Linked DNA regions of Homo sapiens: region 1 is linked to region 2. The links are contacts of gene promoters, found by promoter capture Hi-C in human tissues and cell types (Jung and others, 2019). All regions are on one chromosome and are shown on one strand. The core of a region is centred on a gene start or on the middle of the fragment in contact, and the rest is flanking DNA. Distances in the headings are between cores, read along the strand shown. Region 1 overlaps PEX14 (peroxisomal biogenesis factor 14). Region 2 holds the start of FBXO6 (F-box protein 6).

Region 1 (5,665 bases), core at 2,485-4,984, 1.1 Mb before region 2:
GTCTTAAGTTTTCATTTATTAATGCTAATGCTGTTCTCTGGTTGTTCCCTAGCCCTGTTTTATAGTCCAAATCACAGATGAGAAACTAGAAGAACTGTAGAAACTGTGTTACTGAGTACATAGTCTGAGAACTTTGTCTCTCTTTGTAGAAGAGTGTGTCTATTTGGTCAGTAATGCAAATGTTGTCCCACTGGGTTTGCTGTGGGACCCACTAGGTTTGCCGTGGGACCTTGAGAAACGGTTATCAGATGGCGGTGACTGAACCAAACCTGTTTTCATTATTGCCAGGTCCGTGGGAGTCTTTTACAGGATCTCAAATCTCCTGCCTGAAACTTTACCTGGGATTGTCTTGATTTGACCCAAGCCTCGTCTGTGCTGGCATCTGTGACTTTGTTTGCAACCCTTTCTAGTCTTTGTTGTGGCCAAGGACAGTCTGGTCTCCCAGCTAACATGGGTACAAACCAGCTTCTAGCTACTTGCAGGAGAATAGCTATGGGTTGACTTGGCATCTGAAGCAGATACAAACAGATTAGGCTGAGCTGCCCCAGAACAGCCAGAAGGAAAACCAGTACTTTAAAAACTGGTCGTCAGGTATTGGTTTAGAAAGAAAGTAGTTTGGAGAATGGGTGAGGACAGCCTGGTGAGTGATCCCGAGGTCACGGGCTGTCCTTGGGATGTGCTCAGATTCTTCTCTAGACCTGGAGAGCAACAGCCGTGCCTCACAAGCCCTTCTCCACATGTTTTGTTTTAAGATGGCAGAGCCTTTCTTTGCAGTTTTAGTTCAGCCTTGGGATGACGGTCAGACCTCGGTTTGTTCTTTTCTTTTCCAGTTTTCAGAGCCCAAGCCTGCTCCCTCTGTTGCTTGTCCAGCCTTGACCAGTGACTGTCTTCAGCCTGCACTCTGCATTTCACCCCAGCAGTAGGAAGAAGTGAGGTCAGAGGAGCACGTGAACCAGGGAGAATCGAATTCTCTTTGGATTTTGCTGGTCACACCCAGCAAAGCTGCTTTCTCTTCCCTTAAGTTCCAAGAACTGTTTGATGGCCTTAACTGCACAATTGGCTTGTGCCAGATTGAGATGTGTTGAACTGGGCAGTGGAGGTGGGGGTGAGGGGCAACTCCCTCTCCTATTGGGGGCAGAGTGCTGGCTGCATCAGGCAGTGATCAGATAGGCACTGATCGGGTCGGTTCACCCTCTGATATAGCCCGTATGCAGACTTCCTTTGAAGAGAGAGGAGTCAGGCTCATTAATTAAAGGAGCCTGGCTTGAGAGGCCTGTAATTATAGGTGCTAGAAATCTGAATTTTAAGAGGTTGTGCAGCTGCATTTTGAAAAATGTAGGGAGGCACCGAGAAGTACTGGTTGTGGGCAAGAATGTGGCTGAACCAGATTTTGGAGGTTCAGGTTTTGGCAGAATTCCCCTCCAAATTCATATTTATTCTTTCTTTCCATTTTGTTCTTTTTTTTTTTTCTAAATGGGAAGCAGAACCTGTGATTTTTTTTTTTTTTAAATGAAGGTTACACCCTGTGACCGAGAGGCTAGCATTGTCAGAGTATATGGGGGGCAGAAAGGAGTTGCTGTGAACTAGAAGATGCTTAGTTTTTGAGGAAACGGCACATCTTTGGGCCTTAGGGATTCAGTATTTGAAAAAAATTAAATAATTTCTTTCTTGAAATGAGTGAGGGGAGCAGGGAGCAGAAGCCCAATTTGAATGCAGTCTAGGGAAGTAAGTCCCAGGCAAATGGTGGACTCTAGAACCTTTGTCCCAACTTGACTTCCCCAGAAGTGTCTCTTCCTCTGTCATGCGTTACTTTTCCATGTGAACCCTGAGTTACAAACAGAAAATTTCAGACCTTTATGGGAAGTCCTGACCTGTGCCTTTTCTCTCTCATTTCCTCAGTTATTTGTAGGTTGACCTTTTGTTTTGGGTGCTTTTTCGCTCTCCTCTCCTTAAAAAAAAAGTATCCCTCTTTGCTTCTTGTCAAAAACCTTTATTTCGGTCCCTGACTATTTGCATCTCTGTTAATTAAGCATGGCTAATTTGATATGTAGATGGGATGGGGAGGGTTAAGGGTTAGATGAATAGAGGTCTACTCCCTGCCTCCCCCGGGTGGTGGGCAGGGGTGCTCCACAGACCTGCAAGACTGAACAGCTACACACGGCTGATGGCAAACCCGATGCCAGGGGGAACCTCCTCTCTGCCTCAGTGGTTTTGTCTCCTTGGGGATATTGAGAGCGTCATCCCGTTTCACAGACTGGACCCTCTGTGAAGGGCTGAAAAAATAAAATATAAAGGCCAGTTCTCTGTGCTCTTTTCTTACATTCTTGTAGTGTATATATTGGGAAATCCACGGGTGAACCCTTACACTGTAGAATAGAACACAAGTGTCCAAGACTCTCACTTGGTGCATTTACAATATGCAAATTCCAATTCCAATTAGATTGAAATCTCTATTTAGCAGAGTGGTTTTGTGAAATAAATAACTTTTGAAGAAGGAGGCCTGCTATATGTAATAAATATATATTTTTCCTTCAGTTGCCTGCATGGTGCTTCCTGCGTTCCCAGCCCTTGCCCGAAATGCTGATTCCGAAGCATCTTTGGGCTCTTTACAGAAGAGATGCTTCTCCTTCCCTTCCTGGCACAAGGATTTCATCCTTGATTTACAGTGCTCAGCTTGTTAGTGCCGGTGAAGGGGAGAGATGGTGTGAAGGTCGTTATGTCCGTTTTGTCCTCTTGGAGAGAAAGTGAGGGAGTGTGTTTCTTGCCGTGTGCTTGTCGTGGTAGTGGTGGAGTTGGAGAGGCCCCCACTTCTGTCAAAAGGAGTCGAGCCAAACTCTCATCCTCTCTTCTTCACCCTGTATACTACACGTTGTCCAACAGGGGGTGAATGATTTCAAAAGCGGAATTCAGAATTTCAGGAAGAGTAGCACACCACCGAGTAGAGGGCCTCCCCCTAACACCCCCCTTTTCATCATTCTCCCCTCCTCAGCCCAGCCGTGACAAACTGACAGATAATTAACAGATCAGACCCTCCTATTAGGCGTGCCCTGTGCTGGAAGCTGCTCTGGCTTTATGCAGTCCTTTAGCAGCTCTGTGTGTGTGGGTGGTGCCTCACTAAGTGGCCATAGCAGAGGGCAGGGAGTGCTTTGGGAAAAGCAAACAGAATGCTCTTTGGAAGAGAGAGTGCTTAAGAGGGAGAGCGGGGGCAGTAAGGTGCCTGGCTTGAAAGCACCTGGCGAAAAGACTCGGACTTTCAGGGTTGTGATCCGGAATACCACCGCCTGTCTCAGGGAATGGTGCGCTGGGTTATAATAGGATGCCTTATTACAAAAAACATTTTGAAGGCCACTTCCCAGGTCAGGCTATGCATTAGGTGCACTCTTCCTTCGGTGTAAGACTGTGCTGGACTTGCAAAATTGGAAGTGTGCAGCCTGTTGTGTTTCAGCCTTGGCATTAAATATTTCTACAGAGACACTGCCCTATGTGGCTTTCTCTCAGCTACCTAACTTTTCTTTCCCTGGTGGAAAGAAGAATTCATTGTGAGAATATTCATTTCTACTTACTAGTGACTTTTAAAAACTACTTTTCTTTGTTTTTGGACACAGGGACTTGCTGTGCTGCTCAGGCTGGAGTGCAGTGTGCAAACACGGCTTACTGCAGCCTTCACCTTCCGGCCGAAGTGATCCTCCCGCCTCGACCTCCATGTAGCTGGGACCATAGATGTGTGCCACCACACCCAGCTCATTTGAAATTTTTGTTGTTGTTGTTGAACAGAAGTGGTGAGAGTAAAATAAAAATAAATTAAATAAATAATATGTTTTGGTAGTGACAGGGTCTCACTTTGTTGCCCAGGCTGGGTCTCAAATTCCTGGGCTCAGGCGATCCTCTCACTTCAGTCTCCCACAGTGCTGGGATTACAGGCATGAGCTGTTGTGCCTGGCCTTCTTCTTCTTTTTTTTTTTTTTGTTTTTTTAACTAGAGACAAGGTCTCACTCTGTCACCCCAGGCTGGAGTGCAGTGCTGCGGTCATAGGTCACTGCAGCCTCAACCTTCTGAGCTCAAGCGATCCTCCTGCCCCAGCCTCCCAAGTAGCTAGGACCACAGGCATATGCCAACATGCCCAGCTAATTTTTAAATTTTTTGAAGAGACAGGATTTCACTGTGTTGTCTAGGCTGGTCTCAAACTCTTGGCCTCAAGTGATCCTCCCACCTTGGCCTCCCAGAGTGCTGGATTATAGTCATGAACCACCATGGCCGGCCCTGAAAACTACTTTTCTACTTCCCTTATGGTGGCCACCCTTCTCATCTTCATGATTTGAATATTAACATAAAGATAAATTTAGCAACATGTAGGGGCTACACGTAGGCTCAGGTCCTTAGGCCTGGCATGTTGGAGCAGAAAGAAACACCTAATTGCATCAAAACCACTCTAAGTTCATGTATGTGGAGCCCATCAAGCTGAAAGCATCCAGACAGCATCTGCTGTTATCAAATCACTCGTGAATCCAGCTAATTAAAATAGAGCTTCATTTTTCTGAACCATTGTTTGGCAGGAATTCGAAACGGGTCTAACCCAATTTCTGCATGTTTATGAGCCTTTATTATATCAGAGGTACTTTTCTGTAAATGTACAGGGCAGCGTTAAATGAATTGATCCACACAGTATCACTGTAGACGCACTATGGACTTGCTAATGATTTCTCTTCCAGCTTTCTGGTTTCCAGACATACTCTTGAAAGCTTTATCTTCTCTTTTTCTATCCTCTGCTCTTTGCCGTTGTCTTTTTTTTTTTTTTTAAACATTTTGAACTTTCCTTTTACTTTTTAATCTTCTTTTTTCTTTGGAAACAGGAAAACTATCCCCTTAAAGAAGTTTTCTTTTCCATTTCTCTTTTTCTTCCTCTCTTCCTGTTTTTGTTTTTCTTCTAGTGGATAAGATTTGTCTTTTCTTCCTTTATTTCTTGCTGTTTTCTATTCTCTCCTTTTCTTTTCTTTTTCTCTCTTATCTTTTCTCCCTTTTATACTTTCTCCCATTCCTTTTCTCTAACCTTCTCTTTCTCCTTTTTCTCTTCTTTCTATCTCCTCCCATTTTCCCTAATAAAATATCCTTATACCTTTGTCTCCACATGCAAATACTGACTAGGGAAGATGGGGGTGCCCGTGGAGGCAGAGCTATCTGGCTGCTCTAAGATGATGTCAGCTGAGTTTACTTCTCTGAATTTGCTTTCATGCTTTATTTTAGGTTTTAAAAAGATTTTTCAAGCCACATCTACTCTACTTTATAGTCTGTAATCCTACTTTGAAGATGAAAAGTGTTACATAAATGCTAACTAATTATTCCTTATACCACTTTGTGAGTCTCTAAGCAGTATTAGTTCCAGTTTACAGATGAGGAAGCAGGAACGGGAAAGGTAAGTAGCTCTGAAAGTTACTGAAGAAGTTGGTGACTGAGTTAGAATTAAACCTGGCTCATCTTTGGCTTTGCTTTTTGATTACCACCTTATGGGTGTTGACTTTTTTCCCCCCTAAGAATCATACATATTTAAGGTGAGGTTGAGTGAATACCATCCCCTTGGCCCCTTCTCATTATATACTTTTAACCTTCTGAAGTTTCATTTGTAGTCTTTAGATGTTAAATGAATTTCTAGGTAATTCCTGGGAAAGAA
Region 2 (4,511 bases), core at 1,092-3,591:
ATGGACAGACCCAGGGTGGGGTGGGGTCCAGGTCGGGTGTGGACTGTCCTCACTGTCAGTGGAGCCCCAGAAGCTAGATGGGTACCAGGTGGGGTTAGGTTCCCAGAGGACTGAGGGAATCCTGTACAGGATGTCCCAGGGTAGATGGGGAGCAGGATTGGGACCTGCTCTGACAGCTGGACACATGAGCCCTGGATGAGTATGGTAGGGGGTTTGAAGAATCCCCTGTCCACCTCCCAAATCCAGGCCCGGCCCCCTCTGGCTTGGAGAGCATTCCAAGCCCCCACCCCACCCCTAGAACTGCCATTCCCAAGACCTCTGTCTCCCAGCCAACCACCCTTGGAACTTGCCTCTTGTCCTGCTGGAAAGATAGCAGTGTTCTCCTGACTTCGCCCTACTGCATGCAGCCAAATAAAAGGTGTGCCCAGTCTAACCTGTGCCCTGTGGTTTCTGGAAGGAAAGGCAGACTTTAGGTGGTCCTGCCTGGACCTGCAGATGGTACAATGGCATGGCTTCTGTCTAAGGTACAGAGGGGTTGGCATTTCAGGAACCAGGCCATCACAGAAACAGGTTCATGGGCAGACCCCTCAGTGAGCTGCAGGTATCTCACCTGGCAGCCGTCCAGTACTGCTGGCTTCCTCTGGAGGCCCAGCCACAGGCTGGGGTTGGGGTGTGTGGACATCTCTGGGCAGCTCTTGAGTCCACCTTGTGCCAGATCAGCAGTGCCACCCAGGCTCTGCCTCCTGGTGTTACTCTTTGCCAACAGCTTTACGGACATTGGATGAAGCCGAAGCATTTAGAATGGTGCCTGGCACACAGTTGGTGCGTGATATGGTTAAGCTTTGTGTCCCCACCCACATCTCATCTTGAATGGTAATCCTGGGTGTTTAGGGAGAGACCTGGTGGGAAGTGATTGGATTATGGGAGCGGTTTTCCCCCATGCTGTTCTCATGATAGTGAGTGAGTTCTCACGAGATCTGATGGTTTTACAAGTGACGGTTTCCCCGGCTCCCTCCTGCCGCCATGTGAAGAAGGTCGTTGCTTCCCCTTCACCTTCCACCACCATGATTGTAAGTTCCTTTTTTCTTTTCTTTTCTTTTTTTTTTTTTTTTTTTTGAGATGGAGTCTCGCTCTGTCGCCCAGGCTGGAGTGCAGTGGCGCAATCTCAGCTCACTGCAAGCTCTGCCTCCCAGGTTCGCGCCATTCACCTGCCTCAGCCTCTGGAGTAGCTGAGACTACAGGCGCCCACCACCATGCCCGGCTAATTTTGTTTGTATTTTTAGTAGAGATGGAGTTTCACCATGTTGGCCAGGGTGGTCTCAATCTCCTGACCTCGTGATCCACCCACCTCGACCTCCCAAAGTGCTGAGATTACAGGCGTGAGCCACCGCGCCCAGCGATTGTTTCTTGAGGCTTCCCCAGCCATATGGAACTATAAGTCAATTAAACCTCTTTCCTTTTATAAATCACCCAGTCTCGGGTATTTCTTTATAGCAGTGTGAACATGGACTATAATCCAGTGCTCAATAAGTACTCCTCACATTTAGCTATCTCAGTCAAGGGTGAGCTAGATAAGGGCTTTGGCCAGGGCAGGATCACCACCCACCAGCCCATGGCAAACTGCAAAAGGACGGCCTTCCACGGAGAACATGTAGCCCTGACTGCAATTAATGTGTCCTGGGCCAGTCCCCTTGTGCAGTACACAGCCTGCACAACCCTTGGTGGTTGCCTGAACAAGGTGCTTGCTAAATATTTGTTGACTGATGGAAGAAATTCATGAACTTAATCCTGATAAAAAACCTCAGAGGTTTTTTATTTTTTGAGACAAGGTCTGGCTCTGTCGCCCAGGCTGCAGTGCAGTGGTACAGTCTCCACTCACTGCAGCCTCCCAGGTTCAAGCGATTCTCCCACCTCAGCCTCCGGAGGAGCTGGGATTATAGACCTGTGCCACCACGCCCGGCTAATTTTTGTATATTTAGTAGAGACAGGGTTTTTGCCATGTTGGCCAGGCTGGTCTCGAACTCCTGACCTCAAGCGATCCTCCCCACCTCGGCCTCCCAAAGTGCTGGGATCACAGGCGTTAGCCACCTCCTAGCACCTCAGGTTTTTTACCTTTGAGTCTATGAAGCCTGCGGAGGTCACGCCCTAGGGAAAGAAGGAGCCCACTGGGTGTCAGGTCCTGCCTCTAGGGAGGGGACCGCGGGTCAAGGGTGGAGCCCTGGGCCGCATAAGGAAGGAACTAGTGCGGAGGTCCGGGGAGCGGCCGCGCGTTCGGGAGCTTCGGCCCTGCGTAGGAGGCGGGTGCAGGTGTGGGTGCTGAGCCGCCCGCCGCCTGGAGGGGGAGACAGCTTCAGGACACGCAGGCCGCAGCGAGGGCCCGGGCCCTGGGGATCCCAGGTTCGTCTTCCCGCGGCGAGGGTTAGGGGCCGGGCCGAGAGGGACGGCAGCGGGGTCCGGGGCGGGGGTGGGGACCGAGCGCAGCGCGTGACGCGGCGGCGGGGCCCAGCGACAACGAAGCCGAGGCCGTAGGCTCGGGCCGACCTGGAGCTCCGCCGCTGCGCCCAGGTCGCGTCCCCGGGGGGACGGGCGGCGGGCGAGTGGGGAGCCGGGGTCTCCGGCGCCTGGGCGTTCACGGAGCCTGCGGGCGCTGGTCCGGGCGGCCAGGGGTGGGGGGCGCGGGCGGCTGGGCCCGGACTTCGACTGGGGGCCTGGCCCCGGGGCCACCCAGGCGGAGGCTCTGCGGCCGCCTCCACCCCGGCCACATCCCGAGGCCGGCGCCGGGTTCGGAGAACTGTCAAGGGACCTCCAGGCCCCCACACGCCTGCGAGATCCGGCGCTTGCCTTGCCCCAGCCACAGTTTCTGTTTCCGAGAAACCGGTGAAGTAACAATGCCACTAGAGCTTGCTGGGAGGGTGGGTGCGGAGAAGGCGAGCACGAGACGCCGGGCCGGGCAGTTGGGGACCCCGATCGGTGTGAGAGGGCTTCCTAGGGCTGGCATGGACTTCCCCACCACAAAATGCCCAGGGCCGGGGGGGGGAAGGGGCGCAAGAAAATGCGGACTGGGCCAGAGACCAGACTTCGGTCACCACGGTGGGAAGCTATTGGTGCCTAGATGCCTCTAGCTTGGAGCCCAGTGACTTTTATTTCGTCTAGAGTCTAGACAGTGCCTTTAGAAGCTGCCAGCATTTATTTATTTATTTATTTATGGCAGAGTCTTGCTCTGTCACCCAGGCTGGAGTGCAGTGGCATGATCACGGCTCACTGCAGCCTCGACTTCCTGGGCTCAAGCGTTCCTCCTGCCTCAGCCTCCTGCATAGCTGGGACTACAGGCACGGGCCACCAGGCCTAGCTAATTTCTTTTTTTTTTTTTTTTTTTTTTTTTTTGAGACGGAGTGTCGCTCTGTCGCCCAGGCTGGAGTGCAGTGGCGCGATCTCAGCTCACTGCAAGCTCCGCCTCCCGGGTTCAGGCCGTCCTCCTGCCTCAGCCTCCCGAGTAGCTGGGACTACAGGCACCTGCTTCTCGAGTAGCTGGGACTACAGGCACCTGCAACCAAGCCCGGCTAATTTTTTGTATTTTTAGTAGAGATGGAGTTTCACTGTGTTAGCCAGGACGGTCTCGATCTCCTAACCTCGTGATCCGCCCACCTCGGCCTCCCAAAGTGCTGGGATTACAGGCGTGAGCCACCGCGCCCGGCCTTTTTTTTTTTTTTTTTTTTTTTTGAGACAGATTCTCACTCTGTTGCCCAGGCTGGAGTGCAGTGGCACGATCTCGGCTCACTGCAACCTCCGCTTCCCGGGTTCAGGTGATTCTCCTGCCTCACCCTCCCGAGTAGCTGGGACTACAGGCGTCCGCCACCACGCCCAGCTAATTTTTGTATTTTTAGTAGAGACGGGGTTTCGCCATATTGGCCAGGCTGGTCTCGAACTCCTGATCTTGTGATCCGCCCGCCTCGGCCTACCGAAGTGCTGGGAATACAGGCCTGAGTCTGTGCACCCGACCTAATTTCTTTTTTTCTAGAGACAGAGTCTCACTATGTTGCCTAGACTACAAGCATTTTTAATTGACAACTTTTACATTTTTTTTCAAATGCTTACAGTTGCTTCTCAGAACTTAGAAGACTTGGCCACATTGGGTTTTTTTGTTATTTTTTTTTTCCATCAAAGCATTTTTCTTTTCTCTTTTTTTTTTTTTTTTTTTTTGAGACAGTTTTGCTCTGTTGCCCAGGCTGGAGTGCCATGGAGCAATCATGGCTCACTCTGCTCCAGCAGGCTCCTTCTTTCCCTAGAGTGTGACCTCGGCAGGCCTCATGGACTGTAAGGTAGAAAAATCTGAGGGGCTGGGTTCGGTGGCTCACACCTGTGAGCTACTGCAGCCTTGACCTCCTGGGCTCAGAAGATCCTGACGCCATAACCTCCCAAGTAGCTAGGACCATAGGCACTCGCCACTATGCCCGGCGAATTTTTTCACTATTTATAGAGACGGGGCCTCCCTGTGTTGCCAAGGTTGCAAA

The links. The method cuts DNA at HindIII sites, captures the fragments that hold promoters and counts their contacts. A contact is called where the count stands out against the background at its distance.
Region 1: a fragment that was not itself captured here is called in contact with the fragment with the promoter of FBXO6 in region 2 in 1 of the 25 tissues and cell types used here (aorta).

Annotation. Positions count from the first base shown.
Region 1 is chr1:10,516,198-10,521,862 of GRCh38, forward strand. The region is part of intron 2 of PEX14 (peroxisomal biogenesis factor 14); the gene reads left to right. Among named protein-coding and RNA genes, the nearest start is that of PEX14, 44 kb to the left of the region's middle. The HindIII fragment of the contact is 4,142 bases long and covers 1,664-5,665 here.
Region 2 is chr1:11,661,859-11,666,369 of GRCh38, forward strand. It overlaps FBXO6 (F-box protein 6), which reads left to right and starts at 2,342. Exons shown (of 6, transcript NM_018438.6): 1 at 2,342-2,397. It overlaps FBXO44 (F-box protein 44), which reads left to right. Exons shown (of 6, transcript NM_033182.7): 6 at 1-1,469. RefSeq lists silencers at 2,408-2,627, 2,678-2,747 and an enhancer at 2,868-2,917. The HindIII fragment of the contact is 9,200 bases long and covers 331-4,511 here.